Regions from separate parts of the Homo sapiens genome. Here all the other regions are linked to region 2. The links are contacts of gene promoters, found by promoter capture Hi-C in blood cells and fetal thymus (Javierre and others, 2016). All regions are on one chromosome and are shown on one strand. The core of a region is centred on a gene start or on the middle of the fragment in contact, and the rest is flanking DNA. Distances in the headings are between cores, read along the strand shown.

What was found. The method cuts DNA at HindIII sites, captures the fragments that hold promoters and counts their contacts. A CHiCAGO score of 5 or more calls a contact.
Region 1: a fragment that was not itself captured here is called in contact with the fragment with the promoter of SLC35G2 in region 2 in 1 of 17 cell types (monocytes); the score reaches 5.2 in monocytes.
Region 3: a contact is called between a fragment that was not itself captured here and the fragment with the promoter of SLC35G2 in region 2, in 3 of 17 cell types (neutrophils, naive B cells and M1 macrophages). The highest score is 7.1, in neutrophils.

What each region holds. Positions count from the first base shown.
Region 1 is chr3:136,515,020-136,518,338 of GRCh38, reverse strand. The region is part of intron 7 of STAG1 (STAG1 cohesin complex component); the gene reads left to right. Among named protein-coding and RNA genes, the nearest start is that of STAG1, 240 kb to the left of the region's middle. The HindIII fragment of the contact is 2,361 bases long and covers 495-2,855 here.
Region 2 is chr3:136,817,393-136,820,706 of GRCh38, reverse strand. It overlaps SLC35G2 (solute carrier family 35 member G2), which reads right to left and starts at 1,581. Exons shown (of 2, transcript NM_025246.3): 1 at 1,079-1,581. RefSeq lists silencers at 384-433, 1,497-1,556. The HindIII fragment of the contact is 16,057 bases long and covers 1-3,314 here.
Region 3 is chr3:136,334,556-136,338,000 of GRCh38, reverse strand. STAG1 (STAG1 cohesin complex component) reads left to right here. Exons shown (of 34, transcript NM_005862.3): 34 at 1-1,765. Among named protein-coding and RNA genes, the nearest start is that of PCCB, 86 kb to the right of the region's middle. The HindIII fragment of the contact is 1,760 bases long and covers 870-2,629 here.

The sequences.
Region 1 (3,319 bases), core at 426-2,925, 300 kb after region 2:
CAAGGCAGTTATGGCCAGATATGATTATCGGCTTTGGAATAAAATGCTCCTTGACATTGCTTAAATCTTAGCTGAGAAGAGAGACAATCAGGTTAGTTATTTTGTAGGGTACAGATGTGATGAGTTCCAGAGCTTCATAAGTCATCAGAGTGGTCTTATCAGTAGTATTTTTAATCTGTTTTCCAAATATCCCATTTTCCTGTTATGAATTCAATATGTGTCCCTGTTGTCAGTGTTTATGCATTGCATTTAATTGTATACTTTTACATTTTTATTAAAAGTTTTTTTTATCATTATATAGTTCTTTATGTCTGTTTATTCCACACTCATAAGTATATTCTTATTTTTCCATTGGAGGTAAACTCTCTTTTTAGAATATATTTTACCATTAAATTGAAAGAGACTGTTAACAATTAAATTTTATATTTTCTTTAATCCCTTCGTTGGAATTTTCAAACATACTGTCCTAGTTATTTGGCCCATTTTAATAAGCTTTACATTGTAGTTTTCATTAACTATTGATCTTCAGAGCTAAGTGCCCTTATTTTTATTTGAAATAGCTATCTCAGTGGGACATAGTAGTACAGTTTGTGGATTTAATTTATGTAAGAAACATTGTGTCATAATTATTTTGGTGGATTTACAATCTGAGACTGGGAACTTTTTTATTTTCAAATTTGATGACATTTTTATTTTTTGAGGGAATATTTTCCTTTTAAGTTCAAAAATAGGTAAGATTTTCTTTGTTTTACCACTTTCTTGTTTGGTATTATGAAGTTAAAATTTTACTCTCAAAGAATTGCTTTTCAGGATTATGTTTATTTTTAGACATTTGCTTTTAAAATGTATACCAATACTTTACAACTTGTTGACTTCAAATTTTTGTTAGAGGGCAACATTCAGGCTGAGTAATGTTGGTTAACGTTTTAATATTTTGTTATTTTCTCACCTACATAATTTTCTGTGATGTTATAAATATATTAATGCTGGCTGCCTCTGACTTCTAAAGTTCTAATTTGAACAAAAGGGAGTTAAAATACAAAATTTGTACTAATAATGACATGAAGATTGTTTCTATTCTCTTTTTTCCCTCCTAAAATGAATTTGGGAAAAAATTAGAAAATGTGGTCAAGATCATCACAAGGCCAGTCTTCATCAGTGCTTATCAATAAGTCACTCTCAGACTCCTGAGGGATAAACATTTCTTTATACCTTATGGTTGATTTTATATTCACATATGATTCATTATTGATTAACTTTTCTTATAGAATCAGCATCTCCAGACTTTTCCTCTGAGGAAGGAAATGACATATGAAATTGCTTTAATTTATGATCAGAGGCTGAAAATAATTTTGCCTCAGAAAATTGAAGTCTTTTTATTTGGCCTTCAGTTGCTGAAATCATGTAATACTGTGGTTGATAGAATGGGTTCTGGCGTGCCTGTCTGAATTCATATTCGTCTCTGTCTTTTACTAGTTGGATAACCTTGGACAAGTCCTTAACATAACTGGTCTTACTCTCTTTATTTGCAAAGTGGGAAAGAAAAGAGATTAGGAGTGCTTGGGACAATGCTTGGCATTTAGTAAGCTGCAGCTATTATTCTATTATTCTTTAATGAGAAAAACGGATAATAGTATTTGCCAATATTTCCCTTCCTTTATGGTTTTACTCAGAATTTATTGATTTGCTTGTTCTATTTTAATAAAAAGTAATAAGACATGACAGATGGGGAAATCATAAATAAACAAGTAGATAAACTTTCAAGAACCGCTGTTAAGAAAACGAACAGCATGCATTTTCTTTTCTTTTGCTTTTTTTTAATGTATGTTTATTTTCTGATTCTCACTCTGTTGCCCAGGCTGCAGTGCAGTGGCATGGTTTTGTTTCCTTGCAACCCCCGCTTCCCAGGCTCAAGCGATCCTTCCACCTCAGCATCCCGAGTAGCTGGGACCACAGGTGCATGCCACCACATCCGGCTAATTTTTTTGTAGTTTTTGTAGAGTTGGGATTTCGCCATGTTGCCCATGGCCTTGAACTCCTGAATTCAAGCAGTTTGCATACCATGGCCTCTAAAAGTGCTGGGATTACAACCACACCCAGCCTGCATTTTCATTTTACTTATCTTTTGGCTCTCAGGACCCATATTCTGTTTATTAAATTCAATAATTATTTTATAATTTTTAACCACACAGATTGTTTCTGGTTTCTATGGTTAAGATGTGAAAATTTTAGAGCAATCTGGTATTATCAAAGAATAGACCATGTAGTATAAATAATTGCTCTTCCTTTTTGTATTTACATTTTATTTTTTTATATTCATTTTTCAAAATTCTTCTAGAGTTTGACCTTTTCATTGCTTTGTACTTTTACTTTGTCTTACTTTACTTTTTCACCGTTGTGTTTTTCATCCCTCCTCCAGATATAAAATCTTTATTCAATTTTCTAGGGTTTGTATATAACAGACTTCTGATGTTCTCGTGGGATTAATGCCCAATAGTTGGTGAAATCTGCAAATACCACTATATCATGTAGTTTTACCCATAAAATAAAGTATAACTTTAAAATGTAATTACTTTTTTGAATCTGTATATTTAGGTCTATAATAACTTGAAATTTTCTAACTTTTTTCTTAGTATTATTGTCTTTTACGTTCTATCATCGGTTCTGAAAATTAGCTTTCTTTTGGCAGCCAGTTTTTGTAAAGAAACAAGGATTTTAAAAATTACTTTATAAGCATTACATATCTTGAATTTATTAACTTGGTGACTTTGGACAAATTATGTAACTCCTGTGCCTTTCTTCGTCTTTATAGCATAGATACTAATAATCCTTTCTCGTGGTAGTATTGGGAAGCTTAAATGAAATAATTTATCTTTTGTTTCCTGAGTCATATAGATGAAATAATTTTTGTTAAATATGTAACATACATAAGTCACTTAGTAATTGTCTAATGTTGTTTGTTGTTGTTGTTTTTGAGATGGAGTCTCACTGTGTTACCCAGGCTGGAGTGCTGTGGCACAATCTTGGCTCCCTGCAACCTCCCCCTCCTGAGTTCAAGTGATTCTCTTGCCTCAGCCTCCCGAGTAGCTGGGACTGCAGGCGTGCACTACCACACCCAGCTAATTTTTGTATTTTTGGGAGAGACGGGGTTTTATCATGTTAGCCAGGCTAGTCTCGAACTCCTCACCTCGGGCAGTCCGCCCACCTTGGCCTCCCAAAGCGCTGAGATTACAGGCCTGAGCAACCATGCCCAGCCCAACGTTGTGATTTTTTTTTTAATTATACTTTAAGTTCTAGGGTACATGTGCACAATGTGCAG
Region 2 (3,314 bases), core at 332-2,831:
AGCTCTAAAAAATGTGTGGCTTGTAGTGTGTAATGGTTTTCAAAAGGGATGAGTGTATTTGCATGTGTGTTAGGTTTGTGCGTAAATGCACATACCTGTATCTTTCATAAGTATATGTGAGAATTCCTGTTTACGCTCATGGTGTGTACTTTCTCATAGGTAATAAAATCTGTTATGCATATGCTTATCTGTACCTCCAAGGCAAGCCACATTTGCTTTCGGGTTATGTTCAGGAAACCAGCCTCAACTTGTCTGAAAAGAGTTTCAGTGTTGGGCCTGCTCCACTCTGGCCACCAGCCATGGAGATGGGCTATTTTTGGCAAAGGTGCAGAGTAGAAGGGCAACGCAGGCCGCGGCCCAGGAAGTCAGTCGACGAGGGCGCGCGAGGCACTTCAGCACCACGGACATAGGCAAGCCTGAGCCAAGTCCTTTCCCGCGGAGGAAGATCGCTCCTCCGGAGCTACCCCCAGCCCTCTGGACCTACCCCCAGCCCTCTGGACCCACCCCCAGCACTCTGGACGTGGGGGGTTACTATCTCCAGGTCCTCGATCAACACTCGGACCCGAGCTTTCCGCCTCGCTCCTCGCGGAGCCGGGTGAAAGAAAACCTGGCCCGAGATGCAGGTCCGCGCTGAGCCTTCATCCGCCGCAACACGAGTCTCTTTCCTGCCGGCCCGCGCGACCCTTCTTCCCTCTCCTCCTCTCAAATGAGGCCAAATGGGTGCACGTGGCGTAGAAATTCTACAGCGCCCAGAGCACTGTGAGGAAAGATTCGCCTTTTCCTCCCCGTGGCTGCTGGAGGCTGTGCGGACTTGCCCTGAGCCTTCTCCGCCACTCTCGGCCGTGACGAGGCCCTTCCTCCACTAACCCTTGCCCTCGTCTTCCCTTGGGAAAAGATGTCTACAAACCGTCGATGTACCACGAAAATCTCAGCGCCCACAGACTGGCGTTCAAGAGTCATGGACATGAGACAAGAGAGTAATGGAAAATACAAATTCTTGGCCATATTTCTAAAATCATCCAGCCTTTTTTAAAACTTGTATTTGAAATTGATCCCATATGACGCCACAGTGACTCACCCCTTGCTTGGGTTGGCTACTGGGCGAGAGGAAAGCAACAGCCCCTGGCCTTCATCATGGACGCTGCAGGAGGGCCCAGACACGCGACAGCGGAAAGAAACGGGAAACCGGGCCGTAGCCGATGCTGGCCCTCCCGTCCCCGTGTCCCGGTTCTCCAGGAGGGCAGCACAGAGAAATGCGGGCCCCGCGGCCTTTCAGGCGTCGTGCAGAGCACCCCGAAGTCTGCAAAGCGGGCGGGGCGCGTCGCCCCCAGCCCGGCCCTTACCCAAAAAGACTGTTGTGCCCCTTAGGTGTGGCGGCTAAACGCGGGTGTGTGGAGTTCGGGGTCCGCTCTCATTCCCTTGTCGGGCGGCCGGGCAGGCAGGATCAAGGTCCCAGTCCGCCGCCGCCGACCGGCTCCCGGGGCCCGGTTACCTGCGTGTCGTGGCGAGGAAGGTGCCCCGGAGGCGACTGACGCGGGCGTGCCCTCGCCTGGGAAAATCGAGGCGGGCGCTGCCCGGAGTACTGCGGAGGGAGAGGGGCGCCGCCGCGCGGACTCTGCGCCTGCGCTCTCCGCCCTCCGCCGCCCCCACCCCACAACCTGACTGGCGCCGGAGTTGGAGACTGCGGGGGACGCTCAGGGTTGTGCCTGAACTGAAGGACTTCCTCTACCCGCGAGGTGGGAGGGTCCACGGGAAAGCGCCCGCCCGGGCCCCTCTAGCTTACGCCCTTGGAGGGCGCTTGTTTGAAGCAATTGCCTGTCTGCCAGGGCTACGTAGTCCGCTGCAAGTGGGCACGGAGGCAGTTTCTGTCCATTTCCACCCATTGTTTGCGCTTAAAAGTCGCAAGTCTATTCCTTCATGTTTAAATATGTGTCCAGCATCGGAAAATCGTGGTCCGGAAAAGTCTTCGGGCATCCCCGAGTCCACCCGCCATTTTACTGATAAGGTCTCTGAGGGAAGGGTCTTGACACTGCACAGCTGGTTCTTCTACCCAAGTGCATATGCCCCAGTCCCAAGTGGAATGAATATAGCCTCTTGGAAACAGACTGGTCATTAAAAGCAGTGGATTTGATGGGTCCAGGGGACAGGCAAGAAAGGGTAAGGGCTGAACCAAGGTGCTGGCTGTGGGAAAAAACAGGAGGTGCTTGCTGGTTTTTCCTCTGTCCCTTCAGACCCACTCTCCACTCTGCTCTGTGACTCAGGACTGACCTTTATGGGCTACGTCAACTATAATCTGGCTTTCAATTGGTTTTGGCAAGTGGGAGGCACCTGCAGATCAGAAGGCAGGATGTGATTCAGGACCTCCCCTGCATCCCCAGCGGGCCACCCTGTTAGCAGTGGCTATGTTCTTCATCTGAAAGCCATTACTCCCATCCTGTGGCCCTCTCCTGCAGTTTTCTCCAGGTTCTGGTTACCACTAACTACCCTTGCCCCTTCAGGCCTGGAGTGGGTAATGACGCCCAGAGGTTTCCTTTAACCCCATCCACACCTTTTTAAATAGTCCCTTCATTAAACTCTCCTCAACTATCCCATCTTTTCCCCACCTTTCCAGGACGCTATAATAGATTTTAGTCCATTGCGGTTGGCAAAATTCATGAGGACAAAAATATATGTAAAAGAAATACGGGGCTTTTAAAAGGCGAGAAGTCTTCCAGAGCCATCTTGACAGTTCCCTGGGCTCCAGGCAGCCAGCATGCTAGGTGGTCTCCCCACTGGGCCCCATAGCCCGAGGGTGCTAGTTTAGGTAGACCCAAGAATGGAATTCAGACTGCTCATAAACAGTGTGATCACCAAAGGGCTGGGGATCATTTCAGAGTCCAGCATAACAGGATTTTGGATTCCTCTTGAGGTAGAGAGACAATCTAGATCTTTATAGAGCAAGTGCTGGTGCTCTCCCAACTACAGCTGGGCTGCTTTTGAATGAGTCAATATTCTTAGGACACTTAAGAGAGTCCTGGAAACAGTGTCTGACAAGTGTGCTTAACAAGAAACTGCTGAGTGAGGCAATTGTCAATTGAGAGCCTCTGGCTGTTTCTGTAGAAAATCCAAGAATGTTCCCAAAGAGGGGGAAAAAGGCAAGAGGGTAGGAAGTCATTAAATTGCCTCTAGCACACTATGGTGTGCTTGGTCTGAATCCAAAATTTGACCATTTCTCGGGCTTGTAAAAACAACCAAACTGATTTGACTACTTTGATTCCTTCCCCATCCCCTTGAAAAACAAAACAAAAACAAAATAAACAAAAAACCCACCAATG
Region 3 (3,445 bases), core at 500-2,999, 480 kb after region 2:
AGATGTGTGTGTTTTTCTGGAGGGAGGAAGAAATTTTAAATTTTTAAAACAGCTGTCAAGATAAACACTGTTATACACCTGTTTTATGAAAACTCAACATTGAGTAAAAAAAAACATATTTTTAACTTTATTTTCCTGTTGTACAATTTAAAAACCGTTTTAACATTTTGCCTTTTTATGTTTTAAAAGCTAACCATTTTTATTAAACCTATGAGTAAGCAGCTCATCCTAATTGCGAAGAGTGTTTTGGAGTTCACTGGATTTGGTTGACCTTTGTGGAACACAAATAATGAAGGAGCAGAACATTGACAAGCTAAGATGAAATTCTGACATAGTACATCTCTGCCAAAAACCACACACCCTCTGTGGATATGGATATGAATTCCCAGATTTTATATACTCTTGAATAAAAGGTTTATTTTTATTTATAAGTGGGCATAAAATAAGAAATGTCCATGCAGCCATTTTTCCAACAGATGCTGTACACCGTTCATTTTATATAGACTAGGGAGATTCAAATACAGTGCATTTTCTATTGGTATTTGTTCTGTGCATTTTTAGCAACTTCTACCAGCAAATAAAGTATTCTCAGTAAAACGAAAATGATTCTCAAGTTATCAGTTTGCTGTTTTTACCACTTATTTCATGCCCTGCCAAATTCAAGTTACACAGACTTCCATTTTCTTAAGATAATCAATCATGAAGAAATCCTTTATCAATCATTCAAAAGTAATTTTAAGTGTAACATAACTGTGTTTACTTCCCATGCACTTAATACCCTTATGCGCTAATTTTGTGAATTAAGTTTACTGATTATAGAAGTATGTGCTGCATAGAAGTCTGTGCTTAGAGGGTGAAGTTCCTAAGCTTACCTTGAATTACAGCTACATTTCAGTGTTAAATGTGCATATTAAGAATAATTCTTTTGGGGAAAGAAATTATGAATCTTCAGGACAGTCTACAATGGTTTAGAGTTACATTCTGCCTAGACTTTTATGACTTGCTGCTATTGTTTTAAAAACCCCACTTAGTCTCTCTCTTCCTTTCTGATTTCTAAAGTAAGCCTCAGAATTTCCAAACCAATTCATCCACAGCTGTTTCTGGGCTGGTTTTTAAAGTAGCTGCAACAGAATCATGAGGCTTTCCCTTTTTATCAAATACGAAAAACATTTTTTAAAATTCTGCACACCCAGTGATCATCTTTTGTGCGGGAAAGCAAGATGATGATGGATGATTTTATTCATCCTTTTAGTAAAGACACAAAACATTTTTCTCAACATTTGTACAGTTCTGAAAAAAACCTGGTCACCAAAAATATCTTCTCTGCTAATTCAGCAATTCTTGGGCTCCAGTTAGGGGAGCTGGGGCCTCACTTTCTCCCAGAATTGTGGGCTTCACTGGAAGTGAAGGTGCAGGAATGACTGGACTGTCCACCCCAGCCCTGCCTGCCTGTGGTTTTGGCCAGGGAGCAAGCCATGAGGTGCCCTGGCACATGCACAAATTGATCCTTTGCGTGACAGTCTTGTATGGAAAACAGATGCTGACAGAATTGTAGACTACCATGCCACACAAAAAGGCTAAATATCTACTCCAATGGGTTTCCAGTTCAGTTTGAAGTCAATCAAATTTTTGTATTTTCGGTGTCTCCTTGATTGGTTTTGCTAGTAATTCTGTAAATTGTACATTTGCAATATGAGGTTTTTTTTCCTTTTGTACAATTTGAAACTGATGCTTCACCTTTCCTTTAATAAACTATTCAAAATCAGGCTTGTGGTAGTCATCCTATTGTTTCTACCAGGTATGGCTTTAAAGAGATGATTTTCTGTCCTGTGGCTCTTGAGAGAGTTTGCAATTTCTGATAATCTGTTAAATGGCAGCAAGTTAACCTTATTAGTGAGTTGGTGGTTTTGTTGTTTTGGCTTTTTAATTTTTTTTAAGAAAGCAGAATTTAGGAATAGCTCACTTTCTTTCATTCCTTAGATTTCTCTGGAGTGTGTGTAGGCCAAGTCATCTGTGGTTTAAGAGGGAGTCTCTTGCAAACTGAGTTTTGCATGAGGCATTCAGGGAACACCCATCCACTGGCCTGTAGCATGGGTCCTCACGGCTTGAGACTCTGGGCTTACATGCATAATTGCACCCTGGCAGTGCCCTTTTGAAGACCACATAGAGTCAATGCAGCTACAGAAATGAAGTTTTCAGCCAGGCATGGTGGCTCACGCCTGTAATCCCAGCACTTTGGAAGGCCAAGGTGAGTGGATCACTTGAGCTCAAGAGTTCGAGACCAGCCTGGGTAGCATGGTAAAACTCCTCTACAAAAAATACAAAAATTAGCTGCGTATGATGGCGCACACCAGCTACTCGTGAGGCTAAGGTAGGAGGATGGCTTGAGCCCACAAGGTGGAGGTTGTTGCAGTGAGCCAAGATTGCACCACTACTGCACTCCAATCTAGGTAACAGAGCCAGACTGTCTTAAAAAGTTTCTCTTGGCATTAGACCTCCTCACTCTTTCTTTAAGAAGTCATACCCTACACACTTCATGGGTCTGGCAATAGGGGGTGAGTTCCTTAAATGGCCTAATATGCCTATGCAAAAAAGGCAAAGGTGTGGGAGACAAATCAGCAAGCAAGCTTTCCAGACAGCCAAGGAAGGAAGGTCATTTAAGGATGGTCTGTAACAGCTCATCTAGATGGTTACAAGAGTATGAGACTAGATGAGCACTTTCAGGCTTGGGTCAGGCTTGCAAATCTCCCATTTGTGGCTTGACTGTAACTCCCTGTTTGCCCCTGTTCCCAGGTAACAGTCCATCAAGCAGGGACTAGTATATTCATGGGAAACAAAGGTTTGATGCCACTCAGGCTTGCCTTTTTTTTTTCGGGGGGGGGGGGGGGGCGGTAAGTGAAGACAGGGTCTCGGTCTGTCACCCAGGCTGGAGTACAATGGTGTGATCTCAGCTCACAGCAACCTCCGCCTCTGGGGTTCAAGAGATTCTCCTGCCTCAGGCTCTCAAGTAGCTGGAATTACAGGCACCCACCACCACGCCCAGCTAAGTTTTGTATTTTTAGTAGAGACAGGCTTTCACCATGTTGCCCAGGCCGGTCATGAACTGAGCTCAAGCAATCCACCTGCCTTGGCCTCCCAAAGTGCTGGGATTACAGGGCATGGGCCATCGCACCCAGCCTTAGGCTTTTCATACTAGACCAAGCTCAGGTAAGATTCTATCCCTGCCCTTCTGAGTGTCTTGTTCTGTGGAGATCTCCATCAGGCACCACTTTTTGAAGAGCATCTTTCTGCTCCCAAGGACACATAAAGGGAGTATTTTCACCACCCAGGACAGTAGGGACATGGTCAAAACTTAACTAACTATTGAGGCTGCCACATTGGCTGGAATATGCCAGCTGGATTCCACAGAGGCCCCAGACTGAGGCACTGCCTATCAAGTGGCTGC